Regions from separate parts of the Homo sapiens genome. Here regions 1 and 2 are each linked to region 3. Evidence: promoter capture Hi-C in human tissues and cell types (Jung and others, 2019). All regions are on one chromosome and are shown on one strand. Each heading gives the region's core, a stretch centred on a gene start or on the middle of the fragment in contact. The rest is flanking DNA. Distances are from core to core; before and after follow the strand shown.

Evidence for each region. Contacts are between HindIII fragments. The study calls those that stand out against the background at their distance.
Region 1: a contact is called between a fragment that was not itself captured here and the fragment with the promoter of DNAJA2 in region 3, in 1 of the 25 tissues and cell types used here (lymphoblastoid cells).
Region 2: a contact is called between a fragment that was not itself captured here and the fragment with the promoter of DNAJA2 in region 3, in 1 of the 25 tissues and cell types used here (dorsolateral prefrontal cortex).

The regions. Positions count from the first base shown.
Region 1 is chr16:48,067,483-48,070,621 of GRCh38, forward strand. No RefSeq gene overlaps it. Among named protein-coding and RNA genes, the nearest start is that of ABCC12, 87 kb to the right of the region's middle. The HindIII fragment of the contact is 7,875 bases long and covers 1-3,139 here.
Region 2 is chr16:48,532,466-48,535,449 of GRCh38, forward strand. No RefSeq gene overlaps it. Among named protein-coding and RNA genes, the nearest start is that of N4BP1, 76 kb to the right of the region's middle. The HindIII fragment of the contact is 4,833 bases long and covers 1-2,984 here.
Region 3 is chr16:46,971,965-46,975,103 of GRCh38, forward strand. It overlaps DNAJA2 (DnaJ heat shock protein family (Hsp40) member A2), which reads right to left and starts at 1,710. Exons shown (of 9, transcript NM_005880.4): 1 at 1,531-1,710. The coding sequence starts at 1,608. DNAJA2-DT (DNAJA2 divergent transcript) reads left to right here and starts at 1,808. Exons shown (of 2, transcript NR_186372.1): 1 at 1,808-2,161. RefSeq lists silencers at 582-661, 1,012-1,081, 1,112-1,161, 1,312-1,391, 1,422-1,471 and enhancers at 1,902-1,971, 2,032-2,121. The HindIII fragment of the contact is 16,518 bases long and covers 1-3,139 here.

The DNA.
Region 1 (3,139 bases), core at 273-2,772, 1.1 Mb after region 3:
ACCCCGGCTCTCCCACACCACCCTTTGGGTGGGATGACACTGAGGCCCTTGTTCTGAGGGCTGCCAAAGTTCCCCTGCAGCATGAAGCTTCTATTCACCATGGGAACTGGCTCCACAAAACATCCTTTATCCCCTGCTTTCCTTCCTGATCTCATTCCCACGCCTTCCAGGAAACAGGAATCTTTGTCTCAGTAAATGCTCATGGGGAACCCAAACTAAGACACAGTCAACTTGTAAATTTCCAAGCAAGGGCTATAGTCCAAGCCCTTTCCAAAACTTATTTGACTGAGAAACTCTTTTCTCACAGTTCACCTGGAGGGACTAGGGTTCTGGAGGACACGCTTAGGGAAGCTCCGTTCTGGCCCTGGGCAGGATGCAGACCTGTCATGGAGTTCCTGAGGGGAGAAGTCAAGGACAGCATGATAGCATGGATGATCAGGGTGTGAAGCAAGAAAGACATTGAGTGGGAATATCCAGCCACCCAGAAACACCTGGAGTTGAGACTCCCCAGGGGCGGAGTCCTCTCAGAGACAGTCTGAGAGGAAGTGGCTGATGTGGGCATTGAATACGTTCATCTGCTGCTACGGATTTGGGGTCTTGTTCTCACACTTCAAGTGCAGTGTGTGGATTAGACTAATTCGGAGTGGATTCATGCTTCACAAAAAAATCATACTGTAGCTGCCTGTGCGAGAATTAACCCACCTGCTCTGCTTCTACCTGTAAGGAAATGGTACCAATTTCCTCAAGCTGCAAGACTGAGAGACAGAGACACCCCAGGATTGGGCAATTATGTTAGGAAATTCAACATTCGAGATGAATGGAAAATGGCTGGGGACTTTTTCTCAACAACTTGGCTCGAACAGGATTGATTCCAGGACTGAGAAGTATTCAAGTGACTCAGTGCCTGCAGTGATATAAAATAGGATCATTTGGTAGCTGGAAAATCTAAGGTGTGCCCTATCATCAAAGCACCGGCATTTAATAAAGTTGATTAAGGATGTTGAAGCAGCAAGGAGGGAAACCAACCATGGAACACCGGGTCAACCCTGCATTAGGAGTCCGGAACATCACAGAGACACAGGGAGATGTCTTCTAAATTTCTGCATGGACCAGGAGACTTTTTCTTGCCTCTAGAAGGACATGGAATGTTCTTTCTGGAACACCCCCCAGCACTGGCTCAGGACATCTCTGTGAGGGTTCTTAGAGGACTCAGGGAATGCTGTCTGCACCTGCACACACAGGTGTGTGGGTTTCCTCTGGGCATTGGCTGCATGTTAGGCATTTGGTATTCTGTCCTATACATGATGGGATAAAGTGTTTAAGAGATAAATGTTCCAAGACCTTCCTGATCTACCCATGAATAAACAACCTGACTGGGACTGCCCTCTACCCCCTGAGAAGGGCACTGCTTGGCAGACCAGCTGCTTATACTCAGAATCTGGAGAAAGGAGGAGGGAGGAAAGTGCAAAAGGCCTGGGGAGTATGGCTTGGAAAATGAAGTTTTTCAAGGTAGTTGGGGGAAAAAATAAGTTCAGAGCCACAGTGGTATGAGAACGAAATAGATGAAAGAGAAAATGGGAGTGTGTTCAGAATGGCTGACATTGGCAGGGCATGGTGACTCATGTCTGTAATCCAAGTGTTTTGGGAGGCCAAGGCAGGAGGATTGCTTGAGGCCAAAAGTTTGAGACCAGCCTGAGCAAGATAGTGAGACCTCACCCGTACAAAATATAAAAAATATTAGCCAGGTGTGGTGGTGTGCATGTAGTTCCAGCTACTGGGGAGGCTGAGGTGGGAGGATTGCTTGAACCAAGGAATTTGAGGCTGCAGTGAGCTATGATCACGACACTGCACTCCAGCCCGGACAACTGAGCAAGACCCTGTCTTTAAAAAATAGAATGGCTGAGGTCTATATGTGTCCTTCTTGGTGTTTGAAAAATATTAGTCCAGGACAGAAGTGCTTGCTTTGAAATTACTCTTGATTGCTGGACTGGACTTTCTTGACCTCAAATACACCGTGGGATTGGGTATTGTGAGTCATGGCTTAAAGTACTACTGAGATGTACGTCCAGACCCTGAGCCTTTTTTTTTTTTTTTTTTGAGACGGAGTCTCGCTGTCGCCCAGGCTGGAGTGCAGTGGCGCAATCTCGGCTCACTGCAGGCTCCGCCCCCTGGGGTTCACGCCATTCTCCTGCCTCAGCCTCCCGAGTAGCTGGGACTACAGGCGCCCGCCACCTCGCCCGGCTAATTTTTTGTATTTTTAGTAGAGACGGGGTTTCACCGTGTTAGCCAGGATGGTCTCGATCTCCTGACCTCGTGATCCACCTGCCTCGGCCTCCCAAAGTGCTGGGATTACAGGCGTGAGCCACCGCGCCCGGCCAGACCCTGAGCCTTTAAACAAATCTACCCACTCACAATAGGCACAGCTAAAGACCAATAAAAATGGGGGGACTGTCTTGAATCTTCTCTCTCCTTTTATCTTTGCTCCTCACTGTCTACTCCAGTCTTCTGTTTACTTCTGACTTTTCAGTAGTTCTCCCATTTTTGGTTACAAAATTTCTCTTTGAATTTGAATAAGGAAATTGACTTTCATAGTATTGATTCTTGCTCTCCTTAAGAAAAATCTTTTCCTCCCTTCTGTCTCTCCCCTATCCTAAGCCTCCAGGGTGAGCACCAGCCCAGCCTGGCTCCAGTTCCTGAACCACCCCAATGCCTGTTAACTGGGCTTGTTCTGCATCTCACTCCCACCTTGCAGGGCCATGAGACAGTGCAGTGTATGTCTGTTTCCCTGGTAGACTGAGCTATGTCTTATTGTTGCATCCTTCCCTGCTCCTAGCACTGCCTCTATTCCATAACAAGGGTTCACTGAGTATTTGTTGATTTCCAGACACAAGATCAGCTGTAGGTCTCAGCCTGGAGGAGATGTTAATAAGAACTGTGACACTTGGAATTTACCATTGAGATGCTTAAATGTGTTAACAGAAATTCCAGAAAGCTAGAGAGGCTCTTGGATAAATTAGAAATCATGAGGAAAAGAGATGTTATTTTCTCGTCAACAGCCAATTCACTAATGATTTAACCAAGTCAATAGCTCATGGGACCTCCGTGACCTTACCACACTGAATTGCTGTTTCTCCTTTTG
Region 2 (2,984 bases), core at 155-2,654, 1.6 Mb after region 3:
AGTGTAGGTAGCTCGATGCCATCTCTAAAGATACATAAATAACTAAAAATAACAAAATACAATGAAAAGGGTCCTGTTCTGTCCTGTACAGGAGGAAGATGAGTGAAGCCGTTTATTTTCCTTTGAGATGGAGTCTCGCTCTGTTGCTCAGGCTGGAGTGCAATGGCACGATCTCGGCTCACTTCAACCTCCGCCTCCCAGGTTCAGGTAATTCTCCTGCCTCAGCCTCCTGAGTAACTGGGATTACAGGCACATGCCACCATGCCCAGCTAATTTTTTTTGTATTTTTAGTAGAGATGGGGTTTCACCATATTGGTCAGTCTGGTCTTGAACTCCTGACCTCAGGTGATCCGCCTGCCTTGGCCTCCCAAAGTGCTGGGATTACAGGCATAAGCCACCATGCCTGGCCAACCTTTTTTTTTTTTTTTTTTCCAAATTTAACTTTTAAGTTCAGGGGTACCTGTACAGGTTTGTTATATAAGGGAACTTGTGTCATGGGGGTTTGTCGTGCATTATTTTTCCTAATCTTCTCCTTCCTCCCATCCTCCACCCTCCAATAGACTCCAGTGTCTGTTGTTCCCCTCTTTGTGTCCATGAGTTTTCTCATTTATTAATAACTCCCACCTATAAATGAGAACATGAGGTATTTGGTATTCTATTCCCATGTTAGTTTGCTAAGGATAATGGCCTCCAGCTACATCTATGTTTCTACAAAATACATGATCTCATTCTTTTCTGTGGCTGCACAGTATTCCAGAGTGAAGCCTTTTAAAAATTCATACAAAGTTGATTGAGGTTGTGGCTTGGTGCGATGGCTCACAGGTGGGCGGGTCACCTGAGGTCAGGAGTTCAAGACCAGACTGGCCAACATGGTGAAACCCTGTCTCTACTAAAAAGTACAAAAATTAGCCGGGCGTGGTGGCAGGCACCTGTAATCCCAGCTACTTGAGAGGCTGACGCAGGAGAATTGCTTGAACCCGGGAGGCAGAGGTTGCAGTGAGCTGAGATTGTGCCACTGCACTCCAGCCTGGATGACACAGCAGAACTTCGCCTCAAAAAATAAATAAATAAATAAAAATAAAAATAAAAAAGTTGACTAAAGGAAAAAGAACTACCCCAACCCTGGTTATGTAGGGCTTGCTGGATGTAAATGGACAATGGTATTCGCTTGCAAACCAGGGTGACCAAGTGTACAGGCAGGGGTCACTGAGACTCCAGGCAGTTAAGGGATCCTCTTGAGTAGAAGTTACATACGTTAAGTCATGATTAGGAATGACTGTGCTCCATTAAAAAAAACAAAACAAAACAAAAAACAAAAAGAAAAACCAACTTGATTTTTTTTCCCCAAAGAGGAACCAGATGCATTTTCCTGCTGCCAGAGAAGGCTGTGAACTGTGCAGTCTTGGGCAGCAGGGCTAACTTTCCCCTGGGTCCTGGCCCTTCAAGGAGGGTGCACATGGAGGCCAGAGGTGCAGACAGACTGTGGGTTCTGCAGAGGAGCTGGCTCATCTCAGTGGTCTTGGGAAGACTGAGCCCCATCATCTGGTACCAGGACCTTTGGGCCATCTCGTGCTACTGACAGGCTGAGCCCTCCAGAACAGACATTGGAAGCAGCTGAACAGTGAGTCCTCCATACATCGAAGGCCCCCATCTCGACCCCGCCATCCCCTTAATACGCCCCAGGAATAGAGCTAGGTTAACTGGTTGCCCTCTTGTTACAAGAGTCAGTGAAGGCTGGAGCCAGAGTTGTCTCCAAGGTGCAGAAACGCAGGCTTGGGTAGGGTTTTCCAGAGGAGAGTGTGCACCCAGCTGGCCTTCCACGCTGGGGAGAGGAGGCAGAATACATCTCTTAGGATATAGCCAGACCCTCTTCCCTGACTTCTCCAGCTCCAAGATACTTACAAGTTCCTCTAAAGCTCCCCCACGGAATCTTCTTTTCCATTTTCTGTTTCCCTGTGCGAGCGCTCTCCCATCCGCAGCACCCCTCCCCAGCCCAGTTAGCTCCCTTCCACCCCATCTATACTTCCAGGCTCTGACTTCCCTGCCCTGTGAGGCTGTCAGCCTCCACAGTGGCCCATCCCAGCAGACATTTAGAATGCAGAAGCTATAAACAGAGGATGGTAGACATCAAGGCATGAATGAATGGCCATCTTCCTTGTGGTCCCTGTGATACCGGGATTCCAAGCCCCAAAGGGGTGGTTTGGGCTGGGGATAGTAATTCTGATAAGCTGGAGTGCTCGAAGGTCTGGGATGGACGCCACCTCCGCAGAGGCCAAATGGTGGACGAGGGCCTCTTCCAGCTATGCCTCGTGCCTTCTTAGAGCCAGAGTTCTCGGAGGGAGGGACCAGGTGACTGGCAGTCCCGCTCCACCGTCCCCACCTCTACGGGTGTGAGATGCTCTGGGTGGTCCTCAAAGCCAGAGTTCCTGGGCTGGGGAGGTGGGGGTTTATTAAAGCTGGGAGTGTCAGACAACTAGAAAAGGCTCACAGGGAAAAGAAACTCATCTTCAGGGGAGGCAGTGGAAAGAACAAATGTGGGAATAAGACCTGGACTCAGTCCTGCCTTACCGAACAGCTGATGGCCATGGGCAACCCAAGCTAGCTGGGCCTCTGTCCACACTGCAACTGTGAAACGAGGGCTCTCCACTGGGTGGCCTCCTCCTTCCCTTCTCAGCGGTGTGGCTGGCCCTGCTGGGCTCTCAGGTCCCTGGTGCCTGTGGGATGGTGACCAGGGTTTGCAGGGAGTGCACAGTGGGGAGGATGAAGGCGCTGCTTTGTGGAAAGAAGCTTGCAAGCTCAATGGGTACCAGCTGCTCTCCTCCCTCTTGTGCAGAAATTGTCCCCACATGTAATTAAGCCAGCTTCTGTCAGGAGGTGAGGACACACAGTGGGGCCAGGTCGGGAGAAACACCTGATGCCAATGCCAGCCCCACTGGTACTCAGGAACCAGGAGGGAGCCGGAGGGGTCCTGGCCTCCCCTGCTC
Region 3 (3,139 bases), core at 460-2,959:
TGGATAAAAACAAAAAAGGTTATAACTAAACACCAGTTAAAAGTTTTGTAATAACTTAATATCCACTTTTCTGAGAAGTAATGTTCTAGAGTTATAACCTTTCAAAAATATTTTCTATTCGTAGGGATTCTTCGGCACTTTCTCGCGATACTGTTTACTAATGTAATATAACCAAGTAGACAGCAGCTATACTTGAAAACAGGTTACAGTGACGTGAAAACCAGATAAAACAATGAAGCAATGCCACAGGGAAAAACAAAACGTTCAAACATTATCCATATTTTCCCTATTGTCAAGTGTCTTTGATGGCCAAGTAACCAGACCAAGACGACCCTAATAAATTCGAGATAAATGACTGTTAAGCTTTGCGGACTGCAAAACATTACTATAAATCAAGCTAAAGTCACAATTCCTGCTCCCGATGGCTCACGCCTTCCTTCTAACTGTAACATCATGAAAAAGTAAAGGTGGTCCTAGTTAGCGTCTTTTGGTGTTTTATTTGCACGTGGTGGTTAACTGGGGTCGTGGTGGCAACTTCGGTGGTAGAGAAGTTGCACACACTCTCAACGAGGTGTTTGGGTCCTAAAGCACTTAAATCTTCATTCACGGAGGCTCGTGAATTATATAATACAGACTAGCATTTCCGGTAAGGTAACAGGAAGTCCACTGTACTCTTCTCACTGCCTAAGGAGCATTCTCATTTTTCTCGGCTTACAAATCTGGATGCTCTTAGCCTGGTGAGGATGCTGTGGGGCTTAAATGCCTCGTGTGCTTTGAAATCCTGAGATGAAAGATATCGCAGCATTGCAAATAGCAATAATAAGGCCTTCTATTTATGTTTACTGTACACTCAGGCGTTTGGCTGGGACCACGGCTTATTCCTAAGCAGGTACAGGACATTAGCATTACCTGCCCAAAGAACAATGCATCCAAACACAGACCCAGCTACCTCCGGGTCAATGGGCGAGGGACGCAGAGAGGGAGGAGCTCCCGCAGCCGGCGGCCGCGGAACCCAGGAAACAACCCCATCCGCCCGAGGCGCTCTGTGGGGGCGGCCTCGACCTCCCCGCCGTTCCTCCCCGCGGAGCACCAGACCCGGGGCCGACGGCCGCGGGGCGGACAGCTTCTCTCTCGGGGCCGGGATGCGCTGAGCACCTCGGTCCAACCTGTTTTTCCGGGGTGGTGACCTCGACGCGAAGGACCGGGCGAGCTGCTGCCTCCCGGGGGATACCAGCCCCCGGCGCTCGTTCAAGGAGGGAGGAAGGAAGGGCTCCCATCGTGTTTGCGCAGGAGTGAGTTTTATTTGCTGCATCTGCGGGCGGGCGGGGCCGGCGGCCCCAAGGTCAGCCGAGGCCGGAGTGCGCGGCTCGCGGCGAGGCCGGTCCCGCCGCCGCCGCCGACTCCCAGCCCGGGCCAGTCACGGCCGGCGCCGGCTCGCGGGCAGCCCAGTAGCGCGGCCTGGCTGAAGAAGACATCCCTGGCCGCGCAGGCCCCGCGCCCCTCACACCCGCCCGGCCCGCTCCCAGATACCTTCTTCAGCTCGTTCTCGCTGGCGCCGGGCGGGACGCCCAGGATGTCGTACAGCTTCGTGTCAGCCACGTTAGCCATGGCGGCCGGCCGGGCAGTGCTCGGGGAGAAGGTGGCGAAGCAGACAGAGCGGAGTCGGGCCCACAAGCGGCGTCGGCGGCGGCACAGGCCGAGGGAGACAGCGAGGGGGAAGCGGGGGCGGGGCTGAACTTTGACCCAGCGCACGGTGCGCCGTGACGTCGCTGTGCAGAGCCCGCCCCCGAGCGCCCGAGGCGCGGCCACTGGGGTCGAAGTATTGAAGAGTGGGCCAGGTTCTCTGTTTTCCTCCAGGTCCAGGCGGCTGGGCAGGGCCAACGTAGGAAATGAAGAACTGTGCACGGCGCACCCCAGGAATTCAGCTTCCTCTCAAAAGCCATGGTTGCGAGGTCGCGTGTTTAACCTCGCACTGGCTGCTGAGGGAATTAACAGGCCTGCGCAGCAGCTTCGTTAGCTTCGAAAGAAAATGGGCCCCGGCTCCCGCAGGAGGCCCGCCTGGCGCGCAGATGTCGTTATTAGAATCCGGGACGTCGGTGGACCCTCTGGGTCTGGCTCCCTCGGGGCTTACGATGAAAAAAACTGGGGGGCGCGTGTGTGTGTATGTTGTGTTTTATATTATGAGAATTCTGAAACATTTAGCAGAAGCAGTATATTACTCCCCATAGTGCAGTTAGCTACCTTTTACCTGTTTCATTGGCTCCACCATACATTTCTAGTGTTTTAAGGGAAACCGTTTCATTCATAAATACCCTAAGTGTATATATTTAATATCTAAGAGACAACTTTTAAAGGCATAACGATGTAATCTCATCTAATGAAATTAACAATTCCTTAATCTAATTCCCAGTCCATATTTAGGTTTTTCAGATGATCTCATGTCCTTTTACAATTGGTTTGTGGCATCCGGGTCCAAACCAAGGTCCACATGTTGCATCTGGACCACGTGTTTAAGCCTCTTACTTGATAGCTTTAAAATTAGCTAACACCAGAGGTTTAGATGGTGTAAGGCAAGTCTGGCCACCAGGTGACTTGATTTACATTCGTTTTAGTTTCGCTCAGAAAGTATGCTGTGCATCTACCAAGTGCTATGATGTACAGAGGCCTGGTCCGGGGAGAGGAGTGTTACAAAAGTGCCTGCCTTCAACCCATTTACGGTTTATGGAGACAGAAAAGTAAGGTTTTCTGATCCCTTGGAACCTGAACTGATAGCAAAGACTTCAGCATAAGCATCTCACTCAGGATAATGTTTCTTCCTTGGCGTTCCCTTTGACCTAGTTGTGGAGGGCCTGAATTCCATGACAAGGACTCTGAAATTTAGCTTGAAAACCCTAAGAGTAATCAGTGATAAGTCATTAATAGTCCTTAAACCCTTTTCCTCAAATCCCATCTGAAATCCTGCTCCCTCTGTGAAGTCTTCCTTTACTGGGCACTGGTGAACACTGCTATCTCATTCGAGTTCCCACCACCCTTCGTTTGTACCTTTTGTGGTAGGATCTCGAACTCTTTTGTTTTTTTTTTTTTTTTTTTTTTTTTACTTGAAACAGCGTCTCGTTATGTCGCTCAGGCTGGAGTGCAG